Linked DNA regions of Homo sapiens: all the other regions are linked to region 3. The links are contacts of gene promoters, found by promoter capture Hi-C in blood cells and fetal thymus (Javierre and others, 2016). All regions are on one chromosome and are shown on one strand. The core of a region is centred on a gene start or on the middle of the fragment in contact, and the rest is flanking DNA. Distances in the headings are between cores, read along the strand shown.

Region 1 (2,700 bases), core at 59-2,558, 210 kb before region 3:
ACAGTTTTCTTAAAAGGGTCCTATTTTGTCTGCTTTGAGAGGGGTTAAAAGAAACAAACCAAAAAAACAAACCAAAAAACCCCAACCAACCCTCTATGAATAGCATCAGTTGCTTAACTTCTACTTTATTTAGCAAATCCTTTGTGCAAAGTGTAAGGAATATTTGGTCTAGCATAGTTTGGGTCAAATCATCATAAGCCACACTCATAAAGACCATAAGATGAAGATTTAATGAGCTGCTCTTTTTTAAACAGAGAGGACATCTTGAATTACCAGTTAGTCTTGGACCTCCTCCATATCTACTATAGAAAATGTCAGCTGCATATTCAGATATCCTCTTCATAATTGATATTTTATCCGGGTGAAGCTTGTCATGGGAACACAGGCAAGCGTGATTATCAATAGGTTTGGTAGGTGTTGATTCATCCAACCACTTTTGCAGCCATTCCAGAGAGACAAACTCATAGGGCTCTGAGAAAGCAAGCATCGGAAAGAGCCTATGTATTTTTACAGTTTTTTGACTAAGTGATACATTCATTTTTCTCAAAAGACAATGCAAACTCTGTCCAGAGTTAGCAGAATCAGAAGAATCATTGTCTGGGGGAAGATGTTTGATGAGTACGACACAAAGCTCCAGTTAAGTGCCACTCCTATGAGTTCAAGGAGCTGTGCACCATAATGCTGAGTCTGCACAGTGCCCTATGAGATCGGCTGGTATTATTAACCACATTCTACAAGAGGCATCCACATAGAGTCTTGCCGAATAGCACAGCAGAGCTTTGATCAGGACACCCATGTTTGTTGACTACAAGTCATGCTCCATTGCTGCCTCACAAATAACACAACCTCATGCCCTACTGTGTTTATTTCATAAATTATTTTTGTCAGTACTTTTCACATATATGTGATATACATCTGAAAATTAAAATGAGAAGCCAAACTGAAATAAACCTCACCGACTATGACCACACTTCAGAAGACGCTTTTAACCACTGAACTTTCTTCATCCAAGATGATACTGATGGCAATTTTGAAAAGGTATTTAATTCCCCCACCCAAATCCAAGTCATGATCTCTTCATTATATTATTATTTATTTCAAGAAAGTAACCTATTTTAAACAAGTTCGAGGATAAAGTACACTAGAACTGAGTCATCAATTTTGAAGTTGCAAAAATTAAAAGACAAAACCAAACACCTCAAAATGAGTTTTAATTTGGGGAAAGGAAGTCCCTAGAATTCCCTAAAAGCCAAAATCAAAGATAAAGGGCCAGCTTTGATTACTTACAAAGATCTCCAGTGAGTCCCAGCATAAAACATAGAAGAAAACATACAGAGGTTGAATTTATATTTTTGTATTATATACTCCTTCTGATGAGATCTGAGGGACAGATACTTCAACGCAAAGCCCATTGTGACCAGTTTTATACTCCCCAGAGAGTTACATGTCTAGAAAACTAACTCCCATTTTAATTTTACAGTAAACCATCTCAATTTTTATGAAAACAAAATTTGGCACTGTACATCATCAACTAAGAGCCTTCTAACTGGTCAAGTCGAATGTGGCTCCAGAGGAAGAGCACAGGACTGTGAGTCGAGGTCACGGTCTAATCCAAGTTCTGCTACCAAGAAAATGAACCTGAACAAGTCACTTAAACTTTCTATGTTTCCAGTCTTTTATTTGTAAAATGAAGGTAATAATACCTGCCTTCTACCTACCTCATGGGAATGTTGTTGAGTATAAAAGATAAGCTATGTGAAGCATTTTGAGCTTTTTGGAAGAAAAGAGATATGGAAAAGTTAATTATACATTTACGTAAACTTAATATATAAAAGAGGAGACCTTGGCTGGGCATGGTGGCTCACGCCTGTAATCCTAGCACTTTGGGAGGCCGAGGCGGGCAGATCACCTGAGGTCCAGAGTTTGAGACCAGCCTGACCAACAGGGAGAAACCCCGTCTGTACTAAAAATACAAAAAATTAGCTGGGCATGGCGGCACACGACTGTAATACCAGCTATTCGGGAGGCTGAGGCAGGAGAATCACTTGAACCCGGGACGCGGAGGTTGTGGTGAGCTGACATTGCACCAGTGCGCTCTAGCCTGGGCAACAAGAGTGAAATTCCATCTCAAAAAAAAAAAAGAGGAGACTTTAAGATGCAGTATATGTAACACAGCTGCAGCACTTTACAGTATATCATGGTATGGCTAATTACATTCAAAATGCCTCCCGACTTTATTTGCCATTTATCAAGCTTAATCTGCCAGGGATAGAGTACACTGGGTATCTGGGGAATGCAAAGATAAATGATCCCTTTCTGAAAGCAAGATCAAAGTCTTAGCATACTCTCATCTTTTCCCAAGGACAGTCAATTAGATTAAAATGGTAAGCAATATGAAGGCTATCAAAGGAGAAAAAACAGGATTGTGATAAAGAGCAACATTCAAGAATAAGTCACTAGGCATCCTAGTTTCCCCAGCAGCTGGGGAGGAGTGGACAGACAGCAGTATCTGTTATTGCTAACTGAAAGAAAACACCCTAAGAATCCTGGCCCTCACAATGAAAGGAATCTAGGAAAGCTCAAAATGCACAAAGCCCTCCTTGCCAGGGGATGTCTGCAGGAATTCAAAGCCTAGGGTGACTGTGGCCCTGACTGTCCAGCAACAATGTGGCTCAAAGGCAAGACAACATTTTCCAATCT
Region 2 (2,700 bases), core at 153-2,652, 240 kb before region 3:
CGTGAGCCACTGCGCCTGGCCACACACACACACACACACTTTTAATATATCAACTGAAAAGCACACAATCGAGTTTGCACAAATGTGGCTCGAAAGATGGCTTGTATAGACCACAGAGATGTCCCCGCCACAGAGATGGGGACATGAAAACAGAGTTGACAACAGGGTAAAGGGCGGCAGCAAAGTCATGTCTGCAAACGCTTGTGGAGACATATTAGTAGAGTCAACTAATATGTCTCCACAAGCGTTTGCAGACATGACTTTGCTGCCCTTCTTTACCCTGTTCCTTATGCCAAGGAGCACAAGATGTATATATGCACACAGAGTTTAATAAGGGCATCACTTACTATAGAAAAATATCCCCTTTAAACTGAAAACCTGCATTCTCATCAAGTGTACAGATTTGGTTAGCACTGAAGCAAAGGGCCCTCCAGTGTTGACTGACTGAAATACAGACTGGGAAGGACAACTTAAAGAGTGGCTGATCACTGTCACAAACTGCATGATTTTGCTTCTTCACAGGTGTTTTGAGGTTATTTTATGAGCGCCAATAAGCCACGGAAAACAAATGCTGACATCCCTTTACACCGGTTGGGAAACCACAAGTAACATTTATTTTGGGCACACCAAGATTCAAATCAAGACGGCTTTTCAGACTCTCTCAATCAATGTTAAAAATGAAGTAACAGTATCAACATGCAGACAGGCCAACAAGCCCAGATACCTCTGCCCTGTCACAGATATTGCAGATGGCTATTGTAACACTTTCATTCTTTCAGGGAGAACACCATCCACAATTTCACTACACTATTTTAGTAGTAAAGAAAGAAAACAAACATCTCATCTGTTAAAAATAAAACTTTGAGTAGAAAATCCATGAGTTTAAAGTACAAAATATCCTCCAATGTGGGGGTCTGACTTTTTGAGAAGCTGAAACTTATCTCCACCTACATCAACCATATTCCCACGATTTCCTGTTCTCAAAAGACAATTTATGGGCCGGATGCGGTGGCTCACGCCTATAATCCCAGCACTTTGGAAGGCCAAGGCGGGAGGATCATGACATCAGGAGTTCAAGACCAGCCTAGGTGAAACCCCGTCTCCATTAAAGATACAAAAAATTAGCCAGGAGTGGTGGCGCATGCCTGTAATCCCAGCTACTTGGGAGGCTGAGGCAGGAGAATCACTTGAACCTGGGAGGTGGAGGTTGCAGCGAGCCGAGATTGTGCCACTGTACTCCAGCCTGGTTGACAAGGCTAGGATCCATCTCAAAAAAAAAAAAAAAAAAAAGGCCGGGTGCGGTGGCTCCTGCCTGTAATCTCAGCACTTTGGGAGGCTGCGGTGGGCGGATCACGAGGTCAGGAGTTCGAGACCAGCCTGGCCAACACAGTGAAACCCCGTCTCTACTAAAAATATAAAAAATTAGCCGGGTGTGGTGGTGGGCGCCTATAATCCCAGCTACTTAGGAGGCTGGGGCAGGAGAATCATTTAAACCCAGGAGGCGGACATTGTGGTGAGCTGAGATAGTGCCATTGCACTCCAGCACAGGCAACAGTGCGAGACTCCATCTCAAAAAAAAAAAAAAAAGAAAAAAAAAGAACCAATATCCCATACAGGGTACAGAGACATGGCCAGGGGCTTCGAGTGGCTGCTCTATAAGAACAGCAGAAAGTATAACAATGAAAAGCAGCTTCAACACATACTTGATTAAAATCTGGATCTTTTTCTCCATCTGGTTTAGCTTCTTCCTTGTCCTCCTCTGTTTCAGAACTACTCACATTCAGTTCCGGAGCCGAATCCTTCATCACCTGAATGTGCCAGGACAACAAAGAGAAGTAGGTCAGACCCTAGGAAGGCAGGCTATGGAGGATGTGGGGGCTGGGACCGGCAACCTTTATCAAGACGAGGAACACCTTTATCATGGTGGGATTATAGACTGGAGAGTGGATCAAGAATCAAGCCTTCACGGTTTTCTATGCTCTTTTAACATGTTAGTTTTTTACCCTATGACTTATTCTTGTAGTATTTAATGTGCTCACCATACATTTAAGAGGTCTCTGCAGAGCAGTTATTATTATCAGTCTTGTACAATGATGTTATTTTGCAGAAGTTCGAAGGTGCTTGACACCTTCCCGAGCACACTGATTGCCAAGCCTTTTCAAGTTCTCAAACTATTCAAGTGGCAGGAGTTACATGCTCTTTAAGAATTGAGAAAACGAAAGATGGAAGAAGCGCTCTCTTGCAAACACTATGAAATACTCTTATTAAACTGAATAATGAAACTACATCTAAATTGGATAATATTTTATACCAGAGAACAAAAGATTTAAGAAAATTTTACAGGGAGAAACAGAGACATTTATACTCATTAACTTCATTTTCTCGGCAAATTAGGAAATGAAGGCCTTAGTTTATTTAGCTTGTAAAGCAGAACCCTTGGCCTCCAGGGCATAATTATAAGTTACCCTTCTAAAAAATGTGTTTGGAAACAAGCATCAAATAAAATGTATTCCATTTTGTCTTTAATCCCAGAAAGCATGGAATTAAATAAATTAATAAGATATCTAGAGATATGGGTCAGGATCTACCCAAGAGCCATCCCTAATATAATAAAAATGCTTGGAAATCCAATCCAAGCAAGTATTAACACCTCCACTTCCCAAACATATCCAATCAATTTCACCTATCCTTGCAGGTCAA
Region 3 (2,700 bases), core at 128-2,627:
CAGTGAGGAGCCAGGTCTGGGTGGGGGCTTGACGAGTGACTCAGGAGGGTAGAGGTGCGATGAAGCCAGGAAGGTGAGGCCAGGCAGGCAGTTCCTGGGTAAACACCAGCCTGGTTAGAAAAGTCCCTCTCTTGGCTCAGAGAACAGGGAGGCAGGTATGGGGACTGCCTAGGAGCACCTCGGAGAGAGTGGGGGTGGCTCTGTGGCTCCCCACGGTAGGCTCGGCTCCCCAGATGTGCCCCCACCCACATCTGCCACTAGCTCCCTGCCCACCGACCCCACCCAGTCCTCCTCAAGTTCACTCAGGTCCTCAGGGCCTCTGCTGGCCAAGTGCCTTCTAAGCCTCGGGATTCCTGACCGTAGAATTCCCTTTTCCTCCACCTAAGCTCAGAGTAGGGGACTAGACTGCAAGGGCAGGCCTCTCCCTGCCTCTTGGAGACCTGGGAAGAGGAAAGCTGGGGAACTCGGGTCCCCCAAGGGTGCACTGCATCCCCGCACCACGCACTTTGCAGCTCATTCCACGCAGTCCAGCAACGCCCTGCAGCTATGCATTTTGAGGCCGTGCATTTTGAGTTCCCTTGACCCACGTGGGGCTGGCCTCAGAGAGGTTAACTAGCGTGCCCCAGGTCACACAGTTACTCAGTGAAAGGCAGGGATTGATTCAACTCTTCGGCTGTATGACTCCAAGGCCCGTGGGTGTTCCACACAAGCTTCAGTTCTGTCCCAAAAGTTTTGCTTGTGCCTACCTGGGTCCAAGCTCCCCAAGGTGATAGACGGTGTGGTAAAGTTTCAGCGAGACTCATAGGGTCCCCATCACCACTGAGTGGCCGTTCTGCCAAGCTGGCGCAGAAGGGTTCCCTCGTCCTGCCAAGTTCCCACCCTGCTCAAAGTTTCCCCTCCTGGTCCCCAGGAATGGTAGGCCGGACCATGCCCAGCGAGACTCCAGCACTCGGCAACGTGGCCGAGAGACCCACGGGCTCCCACACGGGCCAGCCCCGCCCCCAGCCCCACGAAGGGTCCTGACTGGTGGCCCCCCTGGATTAGCCCCATGCCGCAGGGTGGCGCCGGCCCGGGGTCCCCGGCGGGCGCCGCCGTCCCGGGCCAGAGTCCCCGCCGCGCAGCCTTGGGCGCCCCAGCCAAGTTGGCGGGAGGCGGCGAGCGGGACCGGGGCGCCCCTAGCCCCTCCGCCCCCGCCCCCCGCCCCTCTGCCCCGCACACTCACCGCCAGCAGCCGCCCGTGCAGCAGCAGCGCCAGCAGCAGCGCGCCCGCCGCCCGCCACCCCATGGCCCGGCCCGCGCCGCTCTCTCGCTCGCTCGCTCCGCGCCGCCCGCTCCGCGCCGCCCGCAGCCGCCCGCTCGCCGGCCAGCTCGGGACAGCGCGGCCCTCTCCCCACCGCCCCCTTTCCTCCCCGCCCGCCCCGCCCCCGCAGCGCCGGCCCCGCCCCCGAACCGCCCCTCCCCGGAGCGCCAGGCCCCGCCCACGGACCGCCCCCGGGCCGCGGGCTCTGCTCGCCCCAGCCGGCCGCGCAGCCTACTAGGCCTTTGTCTGGGCCCCCAGCCCCCTCCGCGCGGGCCGCGGCCCGGCCCGGCTCCCCGCCAAACCCGGCCTGGAGTATGGGATGGGACGGGGCGGGGGACCGGGGGCCCGGGCCCGGGCATGGGATGGGGCCGCCGGGCCAGGCGCTCTCGCCTCCCCGATCCCCGGCTCCCCCGCTTCCCCGCGCGCGCCGCCGACTTCCACGCCCCTGCACGCCCCGCACGGCCGACTCCACTCGCGCAGCTTTTGAAGATCCCGGGATCTCCTTCCCACGCTCACACGCACGCAGCTGCCGCTCCGCGCCACACGTGCACGCCAACTTCCACACCCAAGAACACCTTCACACCATAACTTTACTGCACGAACACACTTGTGCGCTACCCGGGAACACTTTCACACTCTGGACCCAACTCTGAAGTACCAACAATCCTCACCGGCTCACATGCACACTTAACTCGCTTCCAAACTCTCACCTCCACCAGGGACACAGGAGACAGCCCTCACACCACACTCAGCCCCTCACTCACGCATACATCCCAACAAGTCACGGAGCGGGAGGACGCCTTTTCACATAGATTCCTCGCAGGCACGCACATTTCACACACAGGCCCACATCATTGCCTACATGCTTACCAGCTTGTTTTTTTTTTTTTTTTTTTTTTTGAGAAGGAGTCTCGCTCTGTCCCCAGGCTGGAGTGCGGTGGTGGGATCTTGGCTCACTGCAACCTCCGCCTCCGGGTTCAAGCAATTCTCCGGCCTCAGCCTCCTGAATAGCTGGGATTACAGGCGTGCCACCACGCCTGGCTAATTTTTGTATTTTTAATAGAGATGGGGTTTTTACCATGTTGGCCAGGCTGGTCTCGAACTCCTGACCTTGTGATCTGCCCGCCTTGCCCTCCCAAAGTGATGGGATTACAGGCATTGAGCCACCGCACCCAGCCTCAGCCTGTATCTTTTACCTGTTCTCACCCACTAATCACAGTGCCTCATAGTGGGCACTGGGTACTGAACTGAGCTGCCCACCCCACCTGCACCATTTTCCATGTAAATCACTCACACACCAACTTTGAGTCACATAAATCACAGCCCCAGAGCCAGAACCACACCAACTCACACACTCAGGCCCAGACAGACAGACCCTGCCAAAGCCCCATCACAGATGC
Region 4 (2,756 bases), core at 219-2,718, 250 kb before region 3:
AACTGACTCCTCTGGAGCTGTCTCTCTCCCCTTCCTCCTCCCATTCCCAAGTTCTGGAAGGAGTCACTTTTGACTCACACAGCAGCTTCTTCTGGTATTTAGCCTATTTCTAAATAACATGCTTTTCATAATTTTATTTACTTTTTTTTTTTGAGAGGGTGTCCAGCTCTGTCACCCAGAATGGAGTGCAGTGGCATGATCTCGGCTCACTGCAACCTCTGCTTCCTGGGTTCAAGCAATTCTCCTGCCTCAGCTTCCCAAGTAGCTGGGATTACAGGCACCCACCACCACACTTGGCTAATTTTTGTATTTGTAGTAGAGACAGGGTTTCACCACGTTGGCCAGGCTCGTCTCGAACTCTTGACCTCAAGTGATCCGCCCGCCACAGCCTCCCAAAGTGATGGGATTACAGGAGTGGGCCATCGTGCCTGGCCTACTTCATAATTTTAGATAAAAATCTAATAAATTCTTCAGTGAAGGATACAAACAGCTGTTTTACCACTTACATAGCACCTGCCCCGACCCATCCTCCTGATGAAGTGGTGTTTGTTGTTGTTAAGCCAGTCTCCAGCGCTGGCATTACTTTTTACGCCATTAATACTAGTCACAGTTGAATGCCTTGGTGCACCTTGGTTATATTTACTACATGGTATGACTTGGTCTTTCTGGGCTTGGTAACTACTGAATTACTGATGTGTTTCATTTTCTCTGTATTTATCTCCAATTCACGTGTAAATTCTTAAAGACCTGTAACCTCTTGAAGACAGTCATCATCCCTTCCACTTTTCCTTGTGGCATCCCTTCCTGAAGCTCGCATCCCACCACTCCAATATGGATCAGGTGTCTTCGCTGCCTGCTGAAGAACAGTAGTTCTGAGACTTCCCTTCACCATCTTCTAGGGCATCTTATCCTAGGCTGATCTGCTATTTACTGGGTCCACTGTTGATTCTTTCTTGATTTAATGTTTAAGAAGAAGAACACATCCTCACACAGTATCATGGCAGACGGTGCATGACAGATCAATCTTTTGAAGCCCTGAATATGTTCAAGGGGCCATCAGGTGTGAGGGTTACAGACTTATAGATTGGAACTTGCTTTCCCTCAGGATCTTGCGGGCACTGCTCTATTATCTTCCTGACTTCATCCTGTGAATTTGACTGGCTTTCCCTCCTACTTCTAGATGCTTTCATGACCCTCTTACCCTTAGTTTTTTACTTACTATATCAAACCCAGGGTACCATCATTTTTTACATTTCCATGAACTCTCTTCTATGCTCCAAATGTTCCTTTTATATAGTTCCTCTTCCTATTGTTTGCTTTTTTTTTTTGCCATTATTTATAGGTTATTTTCCAGCTTTCTTATGCTTCCTATGCTATTTCCTCGACATATCTTGGTCCCAGGCTCTCATTCCTCAACTATCTGACTGCTCATATTTACTTAAGTATGAGGTACTAAAAAGATTTGTGGGCCAGGCGTAGTGGCTCACGCCTGTAATCTCAGCACACTGGGAGGCCGAGGCAGGCGGATCATGAGGTCACGAGTTCCAGAGCAGCCTGGACAACATAGTGAAACTCTGTCCCTACTAAAAATACAAAAATTAGCTGGGCATGGTGGCAGGCGCCTGTAGTCCCAGCTACTTGGGAGGCTGAGGCAGAAGAATCGCTTGAACCCAGGACGGGGAGATTGTAGTGAGCCAAGATCATGCCACTGCACTCCAGCTTGGGCAACTGTGAGACTCCATCTCAGAAAAAAAAAAAAAAAGATGTCTGAAAGCTCTGTTCAGTGGGCACTGGTGGGATTGACTAAAGGGTGCCTGGGACATGAACCAGCTTTAAAAAAAATACAAACAAGGCCAGGTGCAATAGCTCACATCTGTAATCCAAACACTTCGGGAGGCCGAGATGGGCAGATCACCTGACGACAGGAATTTGAGACCAGCCTGGCGAATATAGTGAAACCCCGTCTCTACCAAAAATACAAAAGTTAGCCAGGCATGGTGTTGCATGCCTATAGTCCCAGCTACTACTCAGGAGGCTGAGCCAGGAGAATCACTTGAAGCCCAGAGGCGGAGGTTGCAGTGAGCCATACTGCACTTCAGCCTTTTGAGACTCCATCTCAAAAAAATAAAAAATAAAAAATAAAAGCCAAACATAATATTTGTACATATTTATGGGGAACAGCTTATATTTTGATACATGCATACAGTGTATAATGATCACATCAGGGTATTTAGTTATCTCCATCACCTTGAATATTTATTATTTCTTCTTTTTTGAGACAGGGTCTCAATCTGTCACCCAGGCTTGAGTGTAGTGGCATGATGACAGCTCACTGCAGCCTCCAACTCCCCGGCTCAAGCAATCCACCCACCTCAGCCTCCCAAGTATCTGAGACCACAGGTGCGAGCCACCATGCCTGGCTCTTTTTTTAAAATTTGTAGTAGAGACAGGGTCTCACTATGTTGCCCAGGTTGGTCCTGAACTCTTGGGTTCAAGTGATCCACTGCGCCCGGCCTATCATTTCTTTGTGTTGGGAACATTGCATTATCTTTTCTTCTAGCTCTTTTGAAATATACAACATATCACCCTACTGTACTACTGAATACCAGAACTTATTCTTTCTATCAAATTGTATGTTTGTACCCATTAACCAACCTCCCTTCATATGGCCCCTTTCCCATCCACTCATAACTACCATTCTACAGCCAAAAGATCAGCTTTTTTAGCTCCTACGTATGAGTGAGAAAATACAGTAT
Region 5 (2,700 bases), core at 125-2,624, 190 kb before region 3:
TCCACAGGTATCAGCAGTAGCTGTCTTTATTACCAATAGACAGCATTAAAAATGTTGACATTACCATTCTTGCAGATAACCTGGATTTATATTCATCAATTCATTGAACTAATCAATTTTAAAATTAAGGCCAGGCGTGGTGGCTCACACCTGTAATCCCACCACTTTGGGAGGCCGAGGTGGGCAGATCACCTGAGGTTGGGAGTTCTCGAGACCAGCCTGGCCAATATGGCGAAATCCCATCTCTACTAAAGATACAAAAATTAGCCAGGTACGATGGCATGCGTCTGTAGTCCCAGCTACTCGAGAGACTGAGGCAGAGAGAATTGCTTGAACCCAGGAGGTGGAGGCTGCAGTGAGTCGAAATTGCACCACTGCACTCCAGCCTGGGCGACGCAAAATTCTGTCTCAAAAAAAAAAACAGAAAAAGAAAAAAACTTCAGAATTAACATAGTTTTTAGGCCAGGTGCGGTGGGTCACGCCTGTAATTCCAGCACTTTGGGAGGACAAGGCGGGCAGATCACTTGAGGTCAGGAGTTCAAGACCAGCCTGGTCAACACAGTGAAACCCCGTCTCTACTAAAAATACAAAAAATTAGCCAGGCATGGTGGCAGGCGCCTGTAATCCCAGCTACTCGGAAAGCTGAGGCAGGAGAATTGCTTGAACCCAGGAGATGGAGGGTGCAGTGAGCCGAGATCATGCCACTGCACTCCAGCCTGGGCAACAGAATGAAACTCTATCTCTAAAAAAAAAAAAAAAAAAAAAAAAATGCTAAGCTTTTAAGTCCCCAAGGAATATGGCAAGACTTGAGTTTGAGAGTCAGGGGCTAATGTTCAAAAATGAGGATCCCTCATTCTAAAGATGTCTGCATATCTGCAGTCTCACCATTTAAAGAAACAGGTGGATTCTCCTTTTAACAACAGATCTTCTTTTGGATCCATCTTTTGAGCTTTGCATGGATATGTGTGTACAGATTTGTGTGGTTATGTGTGGGTACGGGAAAATATAAATACTAATTATCTGGATGACAAAATTACATATGGTTTGTATTTCTTTTCTTTATGCTTTCTGAATTTCCCAAATTATCTAGAACAAATCCTATGCAATTAACAAAAGTTAATTGTTTTTAGTCTTCTACCTATATAAGGTACAGCAAGCATTACGACAGCGTGTAAAAGACAAGCCTATAACTATAAACCACTAGATTGCTTTTACCAGTCCTAACAATTCTAAAATGAGTAGATAATATTTATTTATTTATTTATTCATTCATTTATTTAAAAATTAAGGAGACAAACATGGTGGCTCATGCCTGTAATCCCAGCACTTTCGGGAGGCTGAAGTAGGAGGATCACTAGAGCCCAGGAGTTCAAGACCCCGTCTCTAAAAAAAAATAACTAAAAATTAGCTGGGCCTGGTGGAATATGCCTGTAGTTCCAGCTTGAGCCCAGGAGGCTGAGTCCGTGATGAGCCGTGATCACATCAATGCAATTTATAGCCTGGGCGACAGAGCCAGACCCTGTCTCAAAAACAAATTAATAAAAAATAAAAAATACTATATTTAGTAAACCAACATACCAAAATTAAGTATTTCTACAGGTTTTGATCTAACACGTCCTTTTGATAAATATTTTCTTTATAGCATAAACTGGGCAAATATATAATAAACTTAGTAAGTAGTAATAGTAACAATTCAAACTCATCCAGTCAAGTCAAGCAAAGTGCTCATTTCACATCTCCTAAGTTTCTGGACTGGGAAGCCACTAACCCATTAGATTTTCCTCAATTTCAATTGCCTGAACAAAGGAGGCAGGAAGCAAACTACTACATAAAGTGAACTATAGCTAAGTTTATTTATTCAACAAAATTTAACAATCTAACATTGAAGTCCAAAACTGAAGTTGAAAACAGTTTCCTTGTTCCACAGAGGTACAAATTTTAAAGTACAGTACTGAAGAGTATCATACATTTGAAAGCTTACATATTTATTTAGCACATTCCTCCCCAACTTTCCCAATCATGTCTCTTAAAGGTTTTTACAGCTTGCTTCCATTGTAAGCTGCCTCCAGAAATGTCTCTTAAAGGTTTTTACAGCTTGCTTCCATTGTAAGCTGCCTCTAGAAATTTTTTATTTTTTTGGAAAGAGATAGAGTTTATAAAATAATTTCTACATTAAAAATTTCAGGTTGGGGGCAGTGGCTCACGCCTGTAATCCCAGCACTTAGGGAGGTCAAGGCAGGTGTCCCACTTGAGGCCAGGAGTTTGAGACCAGCTTGGCCAACACGGCAAAACCCTAAAGTGCAAAAATTAGCTGGGCTCCCTTGTAGCCTCCCAGCTACAAGGGAGGCTGAGGTTGCAGTGAGCTGAGATCGTGTCACTGCACTCCAGCCTAGGCAACAGAGCAAGACTCCGTCTCAAAAATACATACATACATACATAATATTTTATAAGTACTACAATCAACCTTAAAGGGAAGTAAAACAGTCCTTTCTCTAGTAAGACTCAACCTGTTTGGTAGGATGAAGACTACCAAAAGAAAAAAGCAGTACTTATTTCTTGTTAAAACAATGATAGCATCCTAGGGCGTATCAGTAGTTGCAGATATGAAAAATGAAAGCATAAATACTGGAATTATGCCACCTAATGTTTCTGGGACAACGTTTTTAAAAAAGTGAATAGAGGCGCTTGGAGACTGTTAGT

What was found. The method cuts DNA at HindIII sites, captures the fragments that hold promoters and counts their contacts. A CHiCAGO score of 5 or more calls a contact.
Region 1: a contact is called between a fragment that was not itself captured here and the fragment with the promoter of HSPG2 in region 3, in 1 of 17 cell types (erythroblasts). The highest score is 7.7, in erythroblasts.
Region 2: a fragment that was not itself captured here is called in contact with the fragment with the promoter of HSPG2 in region 3 in 2 of 17 cell types (megakaryocytes and erythroblasts); the score reaches 9.5 in megakaryocytes.
Region 4: a fragment that was not itself captured here is called in contact with the fragment with the promoter of HSPG2 in region 3 in 3 of 17 cell types (megakaryocytes, erythroblasts and M1 macrophages); the score reaches 7.3 in megakaryocytes.
Region 5: a fragment that was not itself captured here is called in contact with the fragment with the promoter of HSPG2 in region 3 in 3 of 17 cell types (erythroblasts, naive CD4 T cells and megakaryocytes); the score reaches 6.3 in erythroblasts.

The regions. Positions count from the first base shown.
Region 1 is chr1:21,723,625-21,726,324 of GRCh38, forward strand. USP48 (ubiquitin specific peptidase 48) reads right to left here. Exons shown (of 27, transcript NM_032236.8): 12 at 274-471. Among named protein-coding and RNA genes, the nearest start is that of RAP1GAP, 56 kb to the left of the region's middle. The HindIII fragment of the contact is 1,886 bases long and covers 366-2,251 here.
Region 2 is chr1:21,699,795-21,702,494 of GRCh38, forward strand. It overlaps USP48 (ubiquitin specific peptidase 48), which reads right to left. Exons shown (of 27, transcript NM_032236.8): 22 at 1,704-1,808. Among named protein-coding and RNA genes, the nearest start is that of RAP1GAP, 32 kb to the left of the region's middle. The HindIII fragment of the contact is 5,242 bases long and covers 1-2,700 here.
Region 3 is chr1:21,935,933-21,938,632 of GRCh38, forward strand. It overlaps HSPG2 (heparan sulfate proteoglycan 2), which reads right to left and starts at 1,378. Exons shown (of 97, transcript NM_005529.7): 1 at 1,223-1,378. The coding sequence starts at 1,285. RefSeq lists an enhancer at 1-669 and a silencer at 1,417-1,766. The HindIII fragment of the contact is 13,080 bases long and covers 709-2,700 here.
Region 4 is chr1:21,681,128-21,683,883 of GRCh38, forward strand. All of the region lies in intron 25 of USP48 (ubiquitin specific peptidase 48), which reads right to left. Among named protein-coding and RNA genes, the nearest start is that of RAP1GAP, 13 kb to the left of the region's middle. The HindIII fragment of the contact is 3,882 bases long and covers 1-2,756 here.
Region 5 is chr1:21,744,034-21,746,733 of GRCh38, forward strand. All of the region lies in intron 8 of USP48 (ubiquitin specific peptidase 48), which reads right to left. Among named protein-coding and RNA genes, the nearest start is that of USP48, 38 kb to the right of the region's middle. The HindIII fragment of the contact is 1,200 bases long and covers 775-1,974 here.